2 separate regions of the Homo sapiens genome follow, and region 1 is linked to region 2. The links are contacts of gene promoters, found by promoter capture Hi-C in blood cells and fetal thymus (Javierre and others, 2016). All regions are on one chromosome and are shown on one strand. The core of a region is centred on a gene start or on the middle of the fragment in contact, and the rest is flanking DNA. Distances in the headings are between cores, read along the strand shown. Region 1 overlaps MGAT1 (alpha-1,3-mannosyl-glycoprotein 2-beta-N-acetylglucosaminyltransferase). Region 2 holds the start of BTNL8 (butyrophilin like 8).

What was found. Contacts are between HindIII fragments. The CHiCAGO score rates a contact against its expected background, and 5 or more counts as called.
Region 1: a contact is called between a fragment that was not itself captured here and the fragment with the promoter of BTNL8 in region 2, in 1 of 17 cell types (naive B cells). The highest score is 5.0, in naive B cells.

What each region holds. Positions count from the first base shown.
Region 1 is chr5:180,785,542-180,788,241 of GRCh38, forward strand. MGAT1 (alpha-1,3-mannosyl-glycoprotein 2-beta-N-acetylglucosaminyltransferase) reads right to left here. Exons shown (of 2, transcript NM_002406.4): 2 at 1-2,700. Among named protein-coding and RNA genes, the nearest start is that of MGAT1, 16 kb to the right of the region's middle. RefSeq lists enhancers at 1-405, 406-1,316. The HindIII fragment of the contact is 1,032 bases long and covers 861-1,892 here.
Region 2 is chr5:180,897,837-180,900,536 of GRCh38, forward strand. BTNL8 (butyrophilin like 8) reads left to right here and starts at 1,323. Exons shown (of 8, transcript NM_001040462.3): 1 at 1,323-1,523. The coding sequence starts at 1,475. The HindIII fragment of the contact is 2,662 bases long and covers 1-2,094 here.

The DNA.
Region 1 (2,700 bases), core at 127-2,626, 110 kb before region 2:
TCAGATGTCTTCCATGAACTCCCTGGAGCTCAAGGCCCCAAGTGTGCCTGTTCTAGCAAGAACCAGGAAGAGGCTGTCTCCCTGCCATGACCTAATCTAGCAGCCACACAGCCCCATTCCGCTGCCAGCGTCCTGCAGGCCCCTCCTCAGGGAAGGCCCTCGGTGAAGAGTGAGGCCTGATCGCCGCTCACCTACTCCTGATCCTGAAAGGTTTTGCCCTTTTCCTAAATAGAAACTCTGAAAAGTAATCAAACAGTATTTCCAAAGGAGGCTTTTGGCAGGCTTGCCTCATTGCCCTTGCAGGGAAGGCTGCCTGTCTCTAGCCATCTTCCTCTTCTTACAGCTGTGCTGAGACGTTTTTGGCTGGGGCAGGGCTGCTGCACTGAGGGTGCATCCCACCTCCTGCAGGGAAGGCAGCCAGACCACATTCCAGTGAGTGGAACGTGAGGGAAGGCTGTCTGCCCACTGCTTTTGTTCCATAAAGAATGAGGCTTGCCCTCCCTTCCCCTCTCCTGCTTCCTGGTAGCTGAACCAGGGCAGCATTTGCTGTGAGCTGGGAGCCATGTGTTGAAGACGGCGGAACAACAAAAGTGAAGACAAAAAAGAAAACTGCATCACTGGCATGTGCCCTTGTCAGTCAGCACTTCCGGGGCTGTGTGTGGCCTTCAGGAATTTCAGTTTTCATGCATGACCCTGAGAAGACTCAGCCCCCTGCCACAGTAGGACAGGTTTCTCAAACAACCCACTAGGGTTAGGGGCCCGCAGGTTTCATTCTGCCCCTCTCCAGGTCAGGGTTCCTAATGCACTCCCCCCAAAGCTCCCCATCACCCTGCCCTCTCCAAATCCTCGTCACTGTCACAAGCTTGGTCTTCCAGGCACCGTGTATGGCCGTGGTCCCTGTAGTCGCCCATACAATCACTCCCTTCTTAGTAACAGGAATCTTAATTTGATTCAGCTTCAGAAATACTTTTTCCAGCCTCTTTTGCTGACAGGGGTGCCTGTGTGATCCAGTTCTACCCAGGGAATTGTGACCCAGCGCTCTGTGAGCTTCCAAGAGAGGAGGAGGCAGCTGCCATCCACCCTTTACCTTCTTCCTTCCTCCTTCTTCCTAAAACGTGTGCTGGCTGGAGCTCCCGCAGCCAAGGAATGAGACCTGACCTCGTGCTAAGAAGAGTGAGACTGAGACCTGAGAAGGAGCCTGGGCCCTGACGGTGGAGGAACCCCCACACCAGCCTGCACCATCGACCTCTCATTTCCGTCCGGCGCTGGGATCCAGGCTTCCTGCTCTGCAACTGAATCCATTCTGACACACTGTCTTACAGTTCTGGTATAAAGGGTCAGACTTCAAGTTAGCCAAGGGAGGCAGTGGGGGAAAGTAACAGCCTTGGCACTACCCGGCCCCCTTTCTATCAACTGCCCCCGCTCTGCCCGCTCCAGACACATGTGGAGGGGGATTAAGTGTCGAGGGAGCCAAGGTGAACAGCAGGAAAAGGAAAGCAGTGGAGACAGAGATTTCCACCAGGCTTTACTCACAATGCAGCCATACGGATTAATCCCACAGCCACCACAGAAGGTTGTGTTACCCCCGCCTCACAGGAAGAGGCTCTGGCAGGAAGAACAGCTGGACCCGAGTCAGACACGCAGGTCACGGGCCCAGAGCAGGGCCGGCCCAGGCCCACCGCACTCTATGACATCGGCCACCAGGCTGGTCTCCAGGAAATAGGGCCCTGGTGTCTACTTCCTAAACTCCCTGTGAATTGCCAGGGGCCAGAATGTGGGTAGGTGGGAGAACAGATGGAGGCTGAAGGACCTCTGGTGGCAAAACACTGACCTCTACAGAGGTCTCATCAGAAAGCCTGAAATCCCACGTTAGATATTTCAGAAAGAGGGCAAGCTTCTGTTCTATACATTTGTATGTTATTTAAAGTTACACAGCCAGACAAATATGTACATAACACTATGGGTTTTGGTGGTAAATGTTTTATCTATGCATATTATGTATAGATGTGAGGAAGACGTCTGGAAGGATACACCACCCACGCGTAAACACACGTTAAGGGAGCGTGTGCAGTATGTTGTATCTAAAATGAACATGTAATACGAAAAGCCAGTAGCTGGTATTTGTAAAGGGGTGCTCTGTATCTAACCCTCTAAATGCCCCCCACCTCCCACCCTCTTGGCCTGCTCTGAGGGCTTCGTCTCCGTTTCCCTGGCCCCTCAGCCTTGGCAGGCTTCTCATGCAGGGCCCAGTGAAGGCTCAGGAGGGCCTTGGCCAGACTCCATCAGACATTTGTCTCCACTGGGGGCGACTTGATCCACAAATGAGATCCCACCAGTGACCCAGGTAAGAGGATTGCAAAGGCCAAGAGGCTTGAGGAGGGAAGGCTGCCCGGAAGGCAGTCTGTCCTGGAGACAGAGTGAGCAGGAACCCACAGTGAGAGCAGGAGTGGCAGGAGGTGGTCACAGCTGGAGGCAGAAGCAGGAATGCAGCAGCAGCAGCAGCCAGGCGCAAGGCAGCTCTGTAAACCTGCAAACTCGAGGCTGGCTGAACTCTACAGCATTGACTAACACGGGGCTTTTCCATCTGGCATTTCCACTTGCTTTGGTATCCACAGGCGCTTCCGGGCCCGGGGGCAGCCGCCACGCACACACGCATGCCACCTGAGCAAGCCTTGATGGGTGAATACCAGGAGACCCCTG
Region 2 (2,700 bases), core at 73-2,572:
GAATGGAGAGGATACTGTGCCTTCTCAGCAGCTTCATAAAAAGGTATTTTGGTCTATATATCCTTGGTAAATCTGTATTTCTGAGACAGCATGAGATCAATAATTTTCTATTCTACTCTCTTGCTTACAACATTCAACAACTCATTTCCTTTTTTTTTTTATCACAGAGTAATATTCCATTGTATAGATGTACCATAGTTTGTGTATACATTCTATGTATCATTATTGAATGATATCTGGTTGCAAACATTTTTGGCAATTATGAATAAAGCTGCTATAAACATTCATGTGCAATTTTTCATGTGGACATATGTTTTCAAGTCATTTAGGTGAATAAAAAGCAGTGCAGTTGCTGGATTAGGTGATAAAAGTATGTTTAATTTTGCAGGAAATTGCTGAACTGTCTTCTAGAACAACCGTACCGTCTTGCATTCCTGTCAGCAATCAGTGAGAATTCCTGTTGCTCCGCATCCTCACCAGCATTTGGTGTTGTCAGTGTTCTAGATTTTAGACTAAATGCAGTGTTTTCATTTTGTCCTATTCTAGATGCTAACTTTTATTGTGATTTAGTCTCGTGAGTTGTTTTAAATTGTTACATAAGAATTTCTTAGTGTATAGAGTTTCCTATGTTTTTGAATTACTTTTTAATTTTAATTGCATTATGATTAGAGTATGTTTATTTTGATGGTTATCTGTGGAAATTTTCATTCTGATCTAGTTAAGTGGTGACTTTGTGAGTTTCCGTGTGCTTAAAAAGACTGCAAATCTCTCATTGTGGCTGCCCTGGAACTTAGTTTATATAATAAATAAGTTTCCTCATGTCTGAACCTGCCCAGGCACCTTTCCCAATGTATCAGATGTTTAACACTAAGGATCTGTTTTGTTCTGGAAAGTTATTTTTATCTGGCCTCATGATTACAGTCCTGGCCCTGAACTTCAGAGAATGGAGGGGTAAGCAAAAGGACCTCAGACTGTGCCAGGAAATGTCAAGTCACCTGCTGTAGGCTACTACTAATGGAGCATGGCCTATTTACTTGGACACCAAACTATCCAGTGCTAACATGAGGTTTTTCAGGACTAGATCCCATGGCCATACAGCCCTGCCTGCCAGATTGGACGTGAAAAGTATTTCCGCATCTGACATTCCTGTTTCACCCACACAGGGCATCGTTTTGCCCAGGACAAAGTTCACCTCCAATCTTATCCACACTATTTCTATCTTTGCTTCCTTGATAAGATATAGACATTTATGCAGTGGTTCAAAGTCTAGAGTCCCTACACTTCTGGTACATGACAGCTGTGTCTCGATGGAGTAGACTCTCAGAACAGCGCAGTTTGCCCTCCGCTCACGCAGAGCCTCTCCGTGGCTTCCGCACCTTGAGCATTAGGCCAGTTCTCCTCTTCTCTCTAATCCATCCGTCACCTCTCCTGTCATCCGTTTCCATGCCGTGAGGTCCATTCACAGAACACATCCATGGCTCTCATGCTCAGTTTGGTTCTGAGTCTCCTCAAGCTGGGATCAGGTAAGACTCATCTTTGTTTCCTCCTTACTAACTAACAGTTTGAGTTCTTTAGCTACAATGGTTGCAGCATAATGGAATGAAGGCATCTTTGTCGTTTCCATTCCTTTGGCTTCTCCTAGCCTCAGCCTGGGGAAGGATCAGGCGCTGTGGAAACAATTATAGTAGCCCCCAAATAATGGAAACACGGGTGTTGAAGACGCACCGTGATCGTTGACGGGGACACACCTAACGTGTTAAGGTGAATAAATTCAGTGTTTCTCCCAGATGGGCTGAGTGGTGTAGGCAGGGTTATTGGAGCACCAAGGTTGCTGACATGGATGTCCATCTGGGAAGAGACACAGTTAGGATTTTTGGGGAAAAGACAATGTATCCAGCTAAAGACATGCTGAGTTAGAAATGTCTGTGGTATGAGACACGAGGGTGGAGGAAGGTGTACAGGTCTTGAGGTGAGAAATTAGCTGAAACCTGGCATATTCTGGGAAGAAATCCACTCTTCTTTCTCCTTCCAGTTACTGTTAACACAGAACCTAGTATATAGGATGTTGAGTGACTGAATACAATTCACAGAGGAAGCTTGAGGTTGGGGTAGAATGCTGGTGGCTAGATGGTCAGTACCCAGCCACAGAAGATTCGATTGACTGTGTTCACTTTCTGTCTGTGAAGGTTCATCCTGCCACCTGTCCACCTATATCTTTTTTGCTAAATGAAGCTAAGAAAACAGAAATAAGGGCAATCAAAACATAGAGCATGTTTCCTTAAAACAAAAACCCATATGTGTTACTAACAGGAGACGCTCTCGTTTCAGTTTGTTTTCATTTATTTTCTGACGAGCTTCTTTGTTTCCCTTCTGTTTCCGGGTGAGGCAGCAGGACATCCTGGAAATGATCTTGGAGACAGAAACATTTTATTTTTAAAAACTCTTATTTCATTTTCTTGTGAGCTTTATTGTTCACAGCTTCCTTAGGTGTTGGTTTGCTTATGATGACATGGAGATACGATCACATTCCTGCTGGGGCTGTGGTGAGGACTGCATGAGCTTGTGCATGTAGAGTGCACACAGCTGCACGGGTGCATGGCATGTTGCAGCAACAGTCTTGTTCCTTTCTTATTTTCAAGGGAAGGAAGTGGAAGGAGTGAAAGGAGATGTTATAGGCAAGAGAGGTGACAGCAGCAAGGG